4 separate regions of the Homo sapiens genome follow, and regions 1, 2 and 3 are each linked to region 4. The links are contacts of gene promoters, found by promoter capture Hi-C in blood cells and fetal thymus (Javierre and others, 2016). All regions are on one chromosome and are shown on one strand. Each heading gives the region's core, a stretch centred on a gene start or on the middle of the fragment in contact. The rest is flanking DNA. Distances are from core to core; before and after follow the strand shown. Region 1 overlaps TRPC3 (transient receptor potential cation channel subfamily C member 3). Region 2 holds the start of ANKRD50 (ankyrin repeat domain containing 50). Region 3 holds the start of BBS7 (Bardet-Biedl syndrome 7). Region 4 holds the start of NUDT6 (nudix hydrolase 6).

What was found. The method cuts DNA at HindIII sites, captures the fragments that hold promoters and counts their contacts. A CHiCAGO score of 5 or more calls a contact.
Region 1: a contact is called between a fragment that was not itself captured here and the fragment with the promoter of NUDT6 in region 4, in 4 of 17 cell types (total B cells, non-activated CD4 T cells, naive CD8 T cells and 1 more). The highest score is 6.2, in total B cells.
Region 2: a contact is called between the fragment with the promoter of ANKRD50 here and the fragment with the promoter of NUDT6 in region 4, in 1 of 17 cell types (fetal thymus). The highest score is 5.9, in fetal thymus.
Region 3: a contact is called between a fragment that was not itself captured here and the fragment with the promoter of NUDT6 in region 4, in 2 of 17 cell types (naive CD8 T cells and fetal thymus). The highest score is 7.4, in naive CD8 T cells.

The regions. Positions count from the first base shown.
Region 1 is chr4:121,883,988-121,887,428 of GRCh38, reverse strand. The region is part of intron 10 of TRPC3 (transient receptor potential cation channel subfamily C member 3); the gene reads left to right. Among named protein-coding and RNA genes, the nearest start is that of BBS7-DT, 15 kb to the right of the region's middle. The HindIII fragment of the contact is 1,720 bases long and covers 435-2,154 here.
Region 2 is chr4:124,710,406-124,713,981 of GRCh38, reverse strand. ANKRD50 (ankyrin repeat domain containing 50) reads left to right here and starts at 1,250. Exons shown (of 5, transcript NM_020337.3): 1 at 1,250-1,524; 2 at 2,708-3,576. The coding sequence starts at 3,471. RefSeq lists enhancers at 711-1,276, 1,277-1,842 and silencers at 994-1,373, 1,524-1,763. The HindIII fragment of the contact is 8,904 bases long and covers 1-3,568 here.
Region 3 is chr4:121,867,914-121,871,299 of GRCh38, reverse strand. BBS7 (Bardet-Biedl syndrome 7) reads left to right here and starts at 826. Exons shown (of 19, transcript NM_176824.3): 1 at 826-1,022; 2 at 3,254-3,319. The coding sequence starts at 987. It overlaps BBS7-DT (BBS7 divergent transcript), which reads right to left and starts at 649. Exons shown (of 1, transcript NR_186650.1): 1 at 1-649. RefSeq lists an enhancer at 896-1,125. The HindIII fragment of the contact is 5,906 bases long and covers 1-3,386 here.
Region 4 is chr4:122,920,528-122,924,012 of GRCh38, reverse strand. NUDT6 (nudix hydrolase 6) reads left to right here and starts at 1,416. Exons shown (of 5, transcript NM_007083.5): 1 at 1,416-1,678. The coding sequence starts at 1,441. AFG2A (AAA ATPase AFG2A) reads right to left here and starts at 935. Exons shown (of 16, transcript NM_145207.3): 1 at 708-935. The coding sequence starts at 870. RefSeq lists enhancers at 574-943, 736-1,272. The HindIII fragment of the contact is 3,202 bases long and covers 1-2,920 here.

The DNA.
Region 1 (3,441 bases), core at 45-2,544, 1.0 Mb after region 4:
ACATGATGTTAGGTTATACAGATACAAAGATATAAGTCATGCCTTCAAGAATCTCTCCATTGAAGTAGAATGGCAGTGTTGAGGTTAGGAGGAAGGAAAGGAAAGTATAAGTAGACAAATATTCACATAACGCTACATGCTATGTAGTATAGTTATGCCTATATATGAAATAGAAATAAATATAAATGCAATGAAATATAAATAAAATGGTTTGGGAATAGAGAAAACAAAAATAGCTCAGAGCAGTCTGAACTATGTGAGGTATGCAGGCCCAGAGAACATGAGTATGGGACTTTCAGTCACAGTCCCCTACCTCTACCCACGCCTGAGGGCAGTTGTTTAAATTCATTTGTTCCTGACTTGCAGCCTCACCTGTTATCTTCATGTACCTAGAATTTGTGATACAAAGAACAATGTATAACCAGTCAAAAGCTTATGTTATTTCAATGTAAGTCCTTGATAAACAACTTAGGAACTGCCTCTTCTTTTCCTTTAAAAACCCACTAGTAATTGCTGCGAATTGGAGCACATATTCAGGGCAACTTGAATCTGTGCTCCCCAGGTTGCAGTCCTTAAACTTGGCCCAGATAAACTCTCTACTTATATATTTAGTTTGCCTCAGATTTTTTCTTTAGGTCAACAGAACTGGGAAACCTACAAGAGAAGATATTTTAAAGTCAATCAATAGGTTTGCAGGTCCCTCTTCAAAAAAAACAAAAAACAAAAAAATGCAGAAAAAAGTAACAGGTAAAAGTCAATCAAGTAGAATAAAAAACAAATTTATTCTCTGTTACCCCAAAGAACAGAATTTGGACCGATAGTTATTTTGGCTTCAAAACAAAGGAGTTGTTTTCTAACAGCTATAGTTGTCCAAAAATAGATTAAACCAGCTGTCTGGAAAAATAGCAGGCCCTCAATCACAGAAGTTTATACAGAAGCTGTGTAATGGTAATCTTTCACAAAGTTTCGTGAGTGGTATAAAAACATGAAAAACAATGATTCCCAAGGTCCTTTTCCTTTCTAAAATTTTACTCTGTACTTCTGAGTTTTTTTTCTATTTGTCTACATCAGTCTTATTACCCTTCATTCACACTTTTTAGATTGTTAAAATTCATAGTACAAAATCTACTAATAAGAGTCAAATTTGGCTTCTCTGTAGAATTAAGTGAGAGAATGAATGTAAAAGTACCTGATAGAGTGCTTAACAATTATTAGTTGAATTTGAATCAGTAAAAATACCAAGTGAGAAGAAAAACTTTCACTCCTTTCAGGAAGGAAGATATCTAACCACCCCGCAGCTACCCAACCACCCACATCTTATTTCTTCTCCCAGTCTTAACGGAGGGTTGAAAAATGAACTTGGGTTTGTTTGCAGGAAGGACTGTTTGAAGTAAGTACCGCCTGGAATCTTTACCTGGTTACCACTCAATTTCAGTTTTGGAACCTCTCTCTAGGATTTCCATACCCTGGACAGAGAAAATCAATAGTCTTTATAGAGTTAGAATGTCTTCCTTAAAGAGTGACTCACAGGCTTGTACCAAGAAAGCTATATAATTTCTGGAGGTTTGTGGAATGTGGAAGTTAATCTATAGACTTCTTTTGTGTTAGTTAGTTAGCAATTTGAGCAAGAGGGAAAAAAGATGAATCTGTTATTGGTCAGTTTAATTTTTTGTACTAGCTTTAATTAAAGAATCAGTTGGAAATTTAGTTAAAGGTAGTATTTAAAATGGTACTTTTACTTGTTACATATGAGTTTCATGGTCCTTGCTTGTGGTACCATCATTAAGATGGATTTATCAAGATTTGCTTTACAGAAGCATAGATAATAATGAAAGAATAATAGTTATATTATTTGAGCACCTACTATGTAATTTACATGTATTGTCTCTTTTACAAGACACTGTCTAGCATTTCCATTACACAGATTAAGATACCAAGGTTCCAGAGCTTGTGAATGATGGAGTCACAACTCAAAACTACATGATTTGTTCTTGCAACTCACAGTCTCAACTGTGTTAAAGAAAACCAGAGCCAGACAGCAGCTAAAGTGGTAAAAACAGATTTTATTCAGGAACTATTGCGATAGGGGGAGAGAGACCTCAAGAGTCTTTGTTGCCTATTACACAATACTGTCTTGGGTTTACTAGACAAGCTTCCTAATAGAATGGGGATGGCCAATCTTTGTCTCCTTCTCTGAGCTGCAGATCATTTTAGAATTCTCATGAACTATCTTTCCAACATGAACAAAGGGATGGACTATTACCAGGTAGTGTCATGTGTGGCGAAACTGATTTCTGTCTAATCTCAGGTACCTTCTTGCCTTGTGCAGAGGCTCAACTTGTCTCAGCACTACTTTTTAAATAGTCATTTCTTTTCCACCAATTTGTATTACTGCCTTTCAAGCTGCTTTCAACTGATACACATAATTTTGTATTTTCATTTTATAGGAATCTGTCTTCACTGTCCCCTAAATTTAACCAGATCCCTGATATGTTCACCCATTATTGTGAATGGTTCCATATCAATATGAAGTTTCACTGGACTGGGGACTGTGTTCACTGTTGTATTCCTAGCACCTGGTACAGTACCTGCCACAGAATTGGCTCTCAATAAATATTTGCTGAATGAATGAATCAGTCCAGTTTAAGATCCATCCAGCTGTGAGTCTGTCCTGGGATCTAGATTCTACAAAATTCAACAGGTTTTATGTCTTACAGTGACTGGAAAAATGAGCTTTTCCTTTTCAGTAGCGTGGGCCCTCTCAGTCTGTTGTTATTCTCTGCATAACATTTTGAATCTTCCTGGATTCTTCTCTTTTACTTGACCTTGGCATAATTTCTACTTTCTTAAAATTGAAGTATATATTTTCTACTCTCGCTATGTCTGCATTTTAGTTCAGGTCTTTTTCCCTTTCCTTTGTTATCTTTTATATACAACATTTGTTACATGCTTAAGAATATGTGTAATGCAAAATAAATTATGAAGCATAATTACATTCACACCTATGAAACCACCACCGACCTGACAATGATAACATTATCCGTCCATTGCCTCTACTTATATGCACCTTGCTACCTACTCCTCTGCCTCCACCTAAGAGTTAATCCCTATCTTGAAGTTGGGTTTCTCCTCTTCTTGCTTTGATTTTCTTTTCAAATATAATTTCTTATATGTGTCAGTATTCCTAAAAATATATTCTACAGATTTACTTGTTATTGAGCTTCATAAGAATAGCTTCATACTCTGTGGTCTTCTGCAACTGGAATTTTTCATTCAACATTATGCTTCTAAGATTCATCCACACTGTTGTGTGTGGCTATGGTGCATTAATTTCATTAATGAACACAATAACATTACATTGAAAATACTGCAATTTGTCTATTCTTGTTAATATTTGTTTAGATTGTTTCCAGTGTTTTGCAATTTCAGACAGGGTTGCTA
Region 2 (3,576 bases), core at 1-2,500, 1.8 Mb before region 4:
CCCTAATTCTGGAGAATTTATACTCTGCCTCTTTTGCTTGTGTTTTAGGAAAGAAGCCCAAAATTCAGGGTACATGAATTAAAATTAAATACTAAGATCAGTAAACCTCAATTGGCACGAATAAACAATATGAAAGAGTAAGCACAAACACGATCTATTTGTTTATCCATCTTTCTTATTGTGATAGCTATACTATGAAATTTCTAAAACTAGATGGGAGACTGGCTTAATATTTTGGCAAATAACCACATGCAAGTTAATGAGGAATGGGAAATAGAGCACTCTGGATTTTAGCATAAACAATTAAAATAAAAAATGCTACATTTCCTATTCCATCAGTTGACGGTATACTTATTTTCCCGGGAGAAATTTGGAATCTAAGCAACTCAGGTCCAGTAAGTGCAAACAACTGACATGCTTAGTCCAACAGGCCCCTGTGAGCAGGCCCTCTAGGGCATTTCCTGACGCCACATGACCAAGACCTTCCCCCCTAGTGGACGCTGCGGGTGATCAAGTGGCCCTGAGGAGCAGGGGCCTGAGACCCAGTCAAGCCTGCTGTCAACCTCCATCTGATGGAGGCCACGTCCTTTTCATGAGGCTGGTAGGAATGTCGCTGTATACCCCCACTATTTCTATTTTCGCAACATTCTTCCCAGTCTTTTCCTTCCTTCTCTTCGTCCCAGCCAAAGTAAAAGCATCCCTGGAATTTAATGGACTGAAAGGAGACCGGACGACTGAGGGGTAGAACGGGGCCCGAAGTGGCTTTGGAAGCAACGGGGTTAAGGGAGAGGCAAAAGGGTTGAGCAGAGAGAGGCAAGAGGCAATCTCCCCCTACCCAACTGCCCCTCCCAGGAGCAGATACGGCACCAACAGCCGGCGAGTCCCTCCGGCCTGGAAGACAAAGGAAGGATCAGGGCCCAGTGGTGACGGGGAGGGTGGGGGCAACGACTCGCGTGAGCTCGGAGACGTGAGAACGCAGCCCCCGCCCCGTTCTCCGCCTCCCCTGAGAAAGGCGGGGCCCCCACGCCGCCCCGAGACAGGTCTCCCCGCCGCGCCGGCAGCGGGTCCCAGGCGGCCGCACACGCCCAGGCACGGGATGCTGCGGGAGAGCGCGGTGGGGGAGGGGAAGGACGCGGAGGCGGAGCCGGCGGGCAAAGAAAGGCCGAGCGGCGGGGCGGGGGCGGGGGCGGGGGCGGGGTCTGGGCTGGGCGGGCGGGGCGGAGCCGGCCGGCCGGGGGCTGCCTGAGACAGTTACTGCCCTGACGGCGGCGGCGGCGGCGGTTGGCCGGTGGGGGCTGGGGCGAGCACGACCGATTCTGCTGGGAAAGCTGGAACTGGCAGCCGCCGGGGGCCAAGAGGAGGATCCGGAGCTGGGAGCGTGCCCCGGGCCCGGCGGAGGAGGCGGCTGCAGTTGGAGTGGAGTCTTGGGAGCGCTGCTGGCAGCGACTTCTCAGCGAAGCAAGTGTCTGAGACTGAGAGTCCCTAACAGCGGCAGCGGCGGCCACGGCGGCGGCTGGGGCCGAGGTAACCGGGGGGCGGCGGCGGCGGTGGAAGCGAGGCCCCTCCCTCGGGTTGGAAGCTGGGAGGCCGAGGCCGTGGCTTGGACCTGACCCAACCACCCACCCTCTCCGGCCTCGAGCCCCAGATTTGCCCTCTTCCCTCGCACCGCCGTCGGCCGGGTGGGAGCGGGAGCGGGGCATGGGGCGGGAGCGCAGAGGCGGAAGCCGACCGGGAGGCGACCCCTCGTCTGGGATTGGCAAGGACCTCAGTCACCCCCTCCCCCTTCAAAAGACACACCCCAATCTCGGTGCGGGGCGGGGTGCAGAGGCGCTCCCAGCCTCTGGAAGGGCAGACCTCGGTGTGGAGGCTGCACCTTCGCTCGTGGCCTCTCTGAGGTGGCTCCCCTGTGGCTCCTCTGGGCGGTTCCAACCCAAGGTGGTGCCCGGCGCTGGGAATCCCGGAGTTCCTTTTGTCTGTCAGCTGAAACTGGAGGCCGGACCTGTGGGCAGACACCCACCAGCACCGAAGCACTCTACTCTTTATCCCTTTCCTGTCTTGGAAGGAATTTCTCTCTAGCAGCCTTTTCTCCGGCCAGACTGGTAGATTTTATCCCTGACCTCCATCCTTGGCCCAGAGGAAGGAAGGATTCACATTTTACTTGTGTTTGCTTTATCATTCTTATAAGAACAGTCATCCCCCATCGTTTTTGTTTTTTTTTTTTAAACCGTTTCCCATCCAGCTGCAACCCTGGTAATCTTCCCCTAGATTTTTGCACATTATCAACAAAGAAGTGTGGCTGGAGGAGTAGACAGTCCTTGACTGACTGGACTGTGTAAGTTAATAGAGCTTCCTTAGCTGGCGCTGTTCTACCAGTCTACTGTGAATGAGCGTTTTGCCTGGAGTTAAGGGTGTTACTGTATGTGCGTAAAGTTTCTCCCCCCCTCCTTTGCTATGGTGAAGTTGCAAAAATCTTGGGTAACTTGATTAAAATGTGGCTGTTTGGGAAGCATAACAATGAGGAAGAAAAATGCAGAAGGGAGAATGTGATTATTTCAGTGGTTTTTGTCCAACTTTTTGAAAGTGCCAAAGGTGAAGTACGTGGATTTTTGAGATTACGTTAACTGGTACACTGCAACCTTTATTGTCCTTAATAAGTTTTTAACATATGATATTTTGCACTGAGGTATTTTTGTTTGTTTTATTTTAGTTACTTGTGGAAATTGTTGATTACCCGGACGTCTTAAAACCAAGAAACCTGTGAACAGGTTCATTAAGAATCTGCTGTCTTGAAAAATGCATATTATGAATGCTTTGAATTAAGAAGGTGTTAACAGTGGTTGTCATTTCTGCCACATAAGAGACTATAATCTGAAACAGTTCCTGGCAGTTGCCCAGATGCCTGAAACTGGCACGATCTAGTACTCTTGAGTGATCATCCTTCAACGAGAAATACAGAGCTACTTACATACTGTACCTCATACCGTATAAATGTAATCTCTCTGATGCCATTTAATGCAGTGGACCTCTTTTCAGAATCTAATTGTCAGATGCAGAATTAACACTTGGAATCTGGAGAAGCATTTTGTACAAATTGAAAGATTGGGTTTTTTCTTTAGTTTTCCACATGTATTGTCTCATCTCTGTTCTTGAAACATCCACAATCACATAAACTCCAGTTATAACCATGGAGTTATGTGACTCATTAAAATTTAGGAAAAGTGTTGCTGAGCTGTGGAATCAGGCGTTTCTCCCTCAGTTCAACAACTAATACATAGACTGCTGATCAAGAATAAGGAACCAAATAAAGTCATGCACGTTCTGTTGACAGAGGAACTCTGTGGCTGTTGAATTTTACTGTAACTAGTTACTCTGTCTTCAGAGTCAACTTAATATACAAGTTATGTCATAATGGATGGAAAGACCTGTGTTGATGTATCCAGACTCTAGCAAATGAAGATAAAAAACCCGTTATGACTAATCCTTGGGAAGAGAAAGTCTGCAAAATGGCTCAAACCAGTTTACTGCAAGGGAAGCAGTTTTACTGTAGGGAGTGGGTTTTCCACAAGCTTCAGCATT
Region 3 (3,386 bases), core at 887-3,386, 1.1 Mb after region 4:
AAAGAAAATGTAGTATATATACACCATTGAATACTACTCAGCCATAAAAAGGAACGAAATAATATCTTTTGGCAGCAACTTGGATGGAACTGGAGGCCATTATTCTAAGTGAAGTAACTTAGGAATAGAAAACCAAATACTGCATGTTCAGTTATGAGGATGCAAAGACATACAGAGCGATATAATGGATTCTGGGAACTCCAGGTAGGGAGGAGATTGGGAGCGGGGTGAGGGATAAAATACTACATATTGGGTACAGTGTACACTGGTGGGTGACGGGTACACTAAAATCTCGGAATTCGCCACTCAAGAGCTCATCCATGTAACCAAAACCCGCCTGTACACCCAAAACTATTGAAATAAAAAAAACATTAAAAATGAGAGAAAACCCACAAAAAGCAAATGGTCTTTGTGCTCCTCAACGGTTTTTAAGAGTCTTGTAAATAAGTCCTAAGGCCAAAAGTCTAAGAACCGCTGCTGTAAGCTAGCACCTATAACGGTGGAACCTAATTCTTTGTAGGACCCTTTCCAATGTCAGAGTGAAATCGGTCAGAATCTAGCAGGCTTATCTAGTTTTTTCTACAGCGATAAGGAAAGAAGTCCAGTATTAGCCCTGGGCCGCGGTGAGGGTGGAGCCAAGACTGCGTCTGGGGTCTCTGTGGAAACCGCCCTGTATGGGTCTCCCGGACCTCGCCTCTTTTGTTCCTCTCCGCCTCTGATTGGAACACGCTGTCAGTGGGCGGTGCTTCGGGAAAGGGGCGGGCCTTCATCTTCTTCCAGGAGCCCCTCGCAGCAGCGTACTGACGTCACGCAGGACGCCACTGCCCTGTCGCCCCGCCTGTGCAGCCCAGGACCTAGGCGCGGTAGCTGGGGCTGGCTTTTGAGGGGCGCGGGCAGCCTTCTGACTGGGTCGGAGGCCTGCGGGCCCGAAGCCTCTGTCCCTCCTGTTCTTGTCCGGCGCTGCTTAGCCCCTCCGCGTAGTCATCATGGATCTGATTTTAAACCGAATGGATTATCTGCAGGTAAACCCAAGGGATAGGGCGGGCGCCGCGCTGGGCAAGCCCAGCACCCGGAGAGGATTCCTTCCTTCCACTGACGAAAGTCTCGGTCGCCAGGAGCTGGTGCGGAGGCGAAGGAGCCGGGCTGGGTGCCGACCTCTCAGCACCCCGCCTTTGGGCAGCTCCCTTTCGTCTGTGACGGTCCGAGGGGACCGGGGAAAAGCGGCACAAGCCCCCACGGTACTGGCTTCTGCCGGGTCCTGAGGATGCTCTGAAAATGTGACACTGTCTCATCCCGGATTCCCCCCAGGGCCCTTCTCCTCCTCCCTAGCCGTGGCTGCCTGAGGGCCTCTAATCCTCAATCTCCATCTCTACCCGGACCCTTTTGCGGAGCACCAGGCACTTGTTTCTTACTGTGAGCTGTACCGCACCAGGCAGATCATGGTAAAAGCAATGAAAACCGGGCCGGGGGCAGTGGCTCACGCCTGTTATCCCAGCACTTTGGGAGGCCGAGGCGGGCGGATCACCTAAGGTCAGCAGTTCGAGACCAGCCTAGCCTACATGGTTAAACCTCTTCTCTACAAAAAGTACAAAAATTAGCCCGGTGTGGTGGCGGGCGCCTGTAATCCCAGGTACTCGGGAGGTTAAGGCAGGAGAATCGCTTGAACTCGGGAGGCGGAGGCTGCAGTGAGCTGACATCATGCCACTGCACTCCAGCTGGGGCGACAGAGCGAGACTGTCTCGAAAGGGGGAAAAAAAGCAATGACAACAGTTTAATGTGCATCTAGCTTATTCTAAGAATTTAGCATACCTACCAACATATTTAATCCTCATAAGAATTTGCAAAGTAGACAATATTATAAATGAGGATCTAAGGGGTTAGAGAAGGCAAGTAATTTGCTTAATAGCTAAAAATTAGGGAGTGGCTATTTGAATCAAAGTCTCGGACTCCAGAACTGGTGTATTTTTGTTACACTACACTGCCTTTCAGAATTTCTTTCAGACCTAAAATTCTCTCTACCCCAATTCCTCATCATATTTTTAGGCCACCTCATTTTAGTTAATGGTACAAATGTTTGCCCAGTCAATTTTCTAGGGGTTTATGCTATGTACTTCCATATCCAACTGGTCACCACATCTTACTGCTTTTAACTCCCAAATATCTCTTGAATCTGTCCCATATCTTCCATCTCTATTACCCTCATTTGGGTTCTCATCTTCTCTTGCTTGAATAATTGAAATAACCTCCAAATTGGGCTCCTGAACTCCAGCTTCATCTCCCTCCAAGCCATCCTTCACATCACTTGCTAGATTGATGTTTCAGAAATACAAATCTAAGCAGATGACTTTAATACAATTTTCTGGAATGCAGAATAAAGTCATTTATACTATATGAACGTTTTATCATGATGTGTTGTTTTCACCAATTCCTCTCCCATTGGTCCCATCCTCTTCTCCTAACTATACACCAGCAGTGACAGTTCCCTGCTGCTTTCATCCTCTGTATTTTTTTGTAAAATAATCTTCACCTGTTAGATTGGATGTTATGGCCATTATCATATTTGGTATTTTAGCATAAATCTTCTTTTTTTTTTTTTTTTTTTTTTTTTTTTTTTTGAAACAGGGTCTTGTTCTGTCACGCAGCCAGTCTGGAGTACAGTGGCATGATCATGACTCACCACAGCCTCAAATTCCTGGACTCAAGTTATCCTCCTGCCTCAGCCTTCCAAGTAGTTGGGCCTGCAGGCATGCACCACCATGCCTAGCTAATTTTTTATTTTTTGTAGAGACAGAGTCTCCCTGTGTTGCCTAGATGGTGTTGAACACCTGGGCTCAAGTGATCCTCCCACTTCAGCCTCCCAAAGTGCTGAGATTACAGGCATGAGCCACTGCATGTGGTCTTCCGTTGCATTTTTAATAACTATAATCTATTTTCAAAGTTCTTGAATCACTTTGCTGAACAACTGTATGCAGTTGGAAAAGAAGGCTTCTAGAGATATTTTTTAGTAAAGCATCTTGCCAGTCATCTTACACAACTATTTTTGGCTTGACAACTTTATAGGATAAATTTTACTATTTTGGTTGTTTCCTATATGTATTCTGACTAATATGACATATCTCATTAGAAAATAAATTAATTACTGATAATAGTTATATCACTAATTTCAGTTTAACAAAAAGGTTCACTATAACTTATTTTAATCTCTGTAATAACTTCAAATTAAATTCACTAGGCATCTGGTGTTTTTCTTTAGGTGGGAGTAACATCTCAGAAGACTATGAAGCTAATTCCTGCCTCAAGACACAGAGCTACACAAAAGGTACTGTATAGATTCTGATTTCTCCACTATTCCCTAGCAGTGACAGAGGAGAGGCTCCTATTTCCTT
Region 4 (3,485 bases), core at 167-2,666:
TTTAATTCAATTTATAAGACTTTTCAGTATAAATACGTTCTCCCAAATCAAAGGAGCTGTCATCTAGGAATGGCTTTTAAGTCAAACACATCTGGACTCAAATATCGGCTCTGCCACTTAGCACCTGTGTAGCCTGAATGGAATCACGTTAACTTTCCTCCCTCTATAAAACTGTCATTACTATACCCATCGGTCACGGCTTCTGTAGAAATTAGATGAGCTATATATACTGCTAACACTAGTGTGCAGTTACTAGCAGTTATTAAATATCATAACCTGCGTAGTACTGGAAGAAAATGCTATCATCACTCCTAAAGGCAGAGTGATCCACATTTTTACTGAATTGGTTATTTAGTTTTTTAGGATAAGTATCCCATGTTCGCTAGTTATGAACAATTTTGCAATTAAATGTGTCGTTAATGTTAAATGAGACAAAGCGTTTCAAGTGCAACTTAAAAATTCAAAATAATTTACAAAAGAGAAACCTTGGACACGGATAAACCATTTCAGCCTAACTTCTCCAGTGCAGGCGCGGCTACGTTTGCATGCTTCTTACATACAGAAGTCTTACACGCTTCTGTGCCGCTCTCAGACCCATGCCACGCCCAACTTTCAAAAGTCTCTGCACCCCAAGTCAGTATCACTGAGTCTCCCGCCCCTCAGGTTGCGCCCCCTCGGCCTCTAGTCTCCCACCCGGAATTCTTTACCCTTTTCTAATAAGTTGGTCACCGTCAGAGTCCCGGAGGTTGCCGCGAAGTCTGATCCAGCAGAAGGAGCCCGTGCCTCCGCACAAGAGGAAGCAGCAGAGGGCAAGGACGAACCATTTTCCGCGCTTTGGTTCAACCGCTTTCTATTCTTCTTGGAAGACATGGTCACAAGGTACCCTAGCCGAAGCAGTAGAAAAGCCGACTCAATGTGCGCGCTTCAACTGAGAGAAAAACTTCCGGGGCAGAAGTCAGCGAGGGTCCGCCCCTGCGCCGTAATCCCCTGAGTGGAGCGCAGCAGTGCACAGCGTGGTGGGAGGGACTGAGCGTTTTCAAAACCAGCAGTCTTTGAAACAGCTGTAACGGCATCTGTGAAAGAAGATAGGTTCCAGGAACGGAACTGCCACTTAGATTGTAAATTCCTGAAAAACAGGACGTTTTTGCATCTCCTCCCGGCTTCCCCATCCCTAAACCAACGTCTGTTGAATTAAACTACCAAACAAAATAAGTGAGTGGCGGTGGGGGAGGAGGTTTTCCCCGCTTAACTGGAGCGGGGCAAATTGCTGAGAAGGGCTGGTGGACCACTTCGCGGTCTCCTTGGCATAGCTCTGCAGAGTGGTAACCCCAGCTCAACTCTGAGGGTATTGATGGCACTCTTCTAAAATGTACGGCCGCGATCTCCGCTCTGGAGCGCGGAGGGGTCATTTGGGCAACGGACGAATTAAGCGGCGTGGAGATGCGGCAGCCACTGAGCTGGGGCCGCTGGCGCGCGATGCTTGCCCGAACCTACGGCCCCGGGCCTTCGGCGGGTTACCGCTGGGCCTCGGGCGCACAGGGTTACGTGCGGAATCCGCCAGTTGGAGCGTGCGATCTGCAGGGCGAGCTGGACAGATTCGGGGGCATCTCGGTGCGCCTGGCGCGGCTCGATGCGCTGGACCGCCTGGACGCTGCCGCCTTCCAGAAGGGCTTGCAGGGCAAGTGCGCCTGGGACGAAGGGCTCCCGGGGCTCCAGAGCTTTTCTAATGAAATAACCGCGGCCCCCACTCCCTAGTCGCTCTGTGCACCACTGTCGAGCCCAGAGGGAAAGGGAGAAGGCACGCGTGACCTGGACCTGTTTTCTGGAGCATTCGTGCTTAGACCTTTTGCTGGGAGGTCTCTAAGGCGGTTGGGTGAAATGGTGAAGATCCCGGACTTTGGGATCTGCAACCCTGGTTGCTGGTCCACTTTCTACTGTGCGACATTCGGAAATTGCCGTAAACCACCATTTCCTCTTCCACAGACCCCGGTGATAAGAACTCCTGGAATTACTGAGAGTTAATTTGGATAATGCACATAAAGTGCACAGCACAGTGCCTGCCACGTATTTAAAGCTCAGTAGATGTTTGTTAATATTATATTATTACATTATTAGTATCCTTTACCGAGCCTTGGTTCTGTCGGACACTTTTCCCAAGGAAAAAAACTCTTACATTCTAATACGGGTGGTGGACTGAGTGGACCAAAGAGGCTTTTCTTTTTTATTTTTAATTTTTGTGGGTCCATAGTAGGTGTGTATGTTTATGGGGTATATGAGCTATTTTGATAGAGGTATAAATGTGTAATAATTACATCAGGGTAAATGAGATACTCATCACCACAAGCATTCAACCATAATCCAGTTACTCTTAGTTATTTTTAAATGTACAGTTTGTTTTTTTTTTTTTTTTTTTTTTTGAGAGAGGGTATCATTCTGTCTCCCAGGCTAGAGTGCAGTGGTAGGATCAGGGTTCACTGCAGCCTCCAACCCCTGAGCTCAAGCAATCCTCCCACCTCAGCCTCCTGGGTAGCTAGGACTACAGGCGCGCATCTGGCTTTTTTCTATTTTTTCTAGAAACGGTGTCTCACTGTGTTGCCCAGGCTGGTCTCAGTCTCCCGGGCTCAACTGATTCTCCCGCCTTGGCCCCTCAAAGTGCTGGGATTACAGGCAGGAGCCACTGCACCCAGCCTGAATCTTTATTGAATATAGTCACCCTGTTGGGCTATCAAATACTAAACCAGAGAGGTTCAGAGTGTCACATTTGTATACAAATTGGGTCAACAGCTGTCTCAGCGAGAACTGGAGTTTTTTAGAATAACGCTTCTTTTATGATTAACCAGGGACGGTGGTGGGTGGTTTCAGTCTTCAATAAGAAAACTTTTTACTGGCTTTCAACCTTGAGCCCAATGATAAGAAAGCTTGGATGGAGGAGCCTTCACTTTGGAAGAAGTCGATTTAGTGGTGCAGCAGTTTTTCAAACGGCCTCTGAGGGTTTTATAATCTAATTGAAGGCATAGCATGCAAATTCAACTATGGAAAAATCTCTCACACTGGAAACTCAAAATAATCTTTATCCTATTGAGCAATATGGCAAGAAGCATATCTGTAAATATAATTGAGCTAGTTATTTCAATGTTTACTCATCCTCATTCCCAGACTTCTTACCTCTTCACATTATTTTCTCTCCTACTTGCTAGTAATTGCTGACAAGCCCGCTTATACTGCAACAGTGTCACTAATAGGAGAATCAATCGTTTTATCTTCCAGTGTGTGGGTAGACACAGGTGTTGTACCCACTGATACTTATCAATGACCAAACAGGTGATCAAAGCACTACCCCAGTCAGCATGACAAAGCAGAAAGCTGTGCGATTTGGAGGTGCACATTCTGGGTTTAAGTACCAGGTTCTGCCATGTGCTTAGCCAGGCATTAGGCAAATTGCCACCAAAAATATTTGCTTCTTAGCTTGCTTTTTGTGAATAACG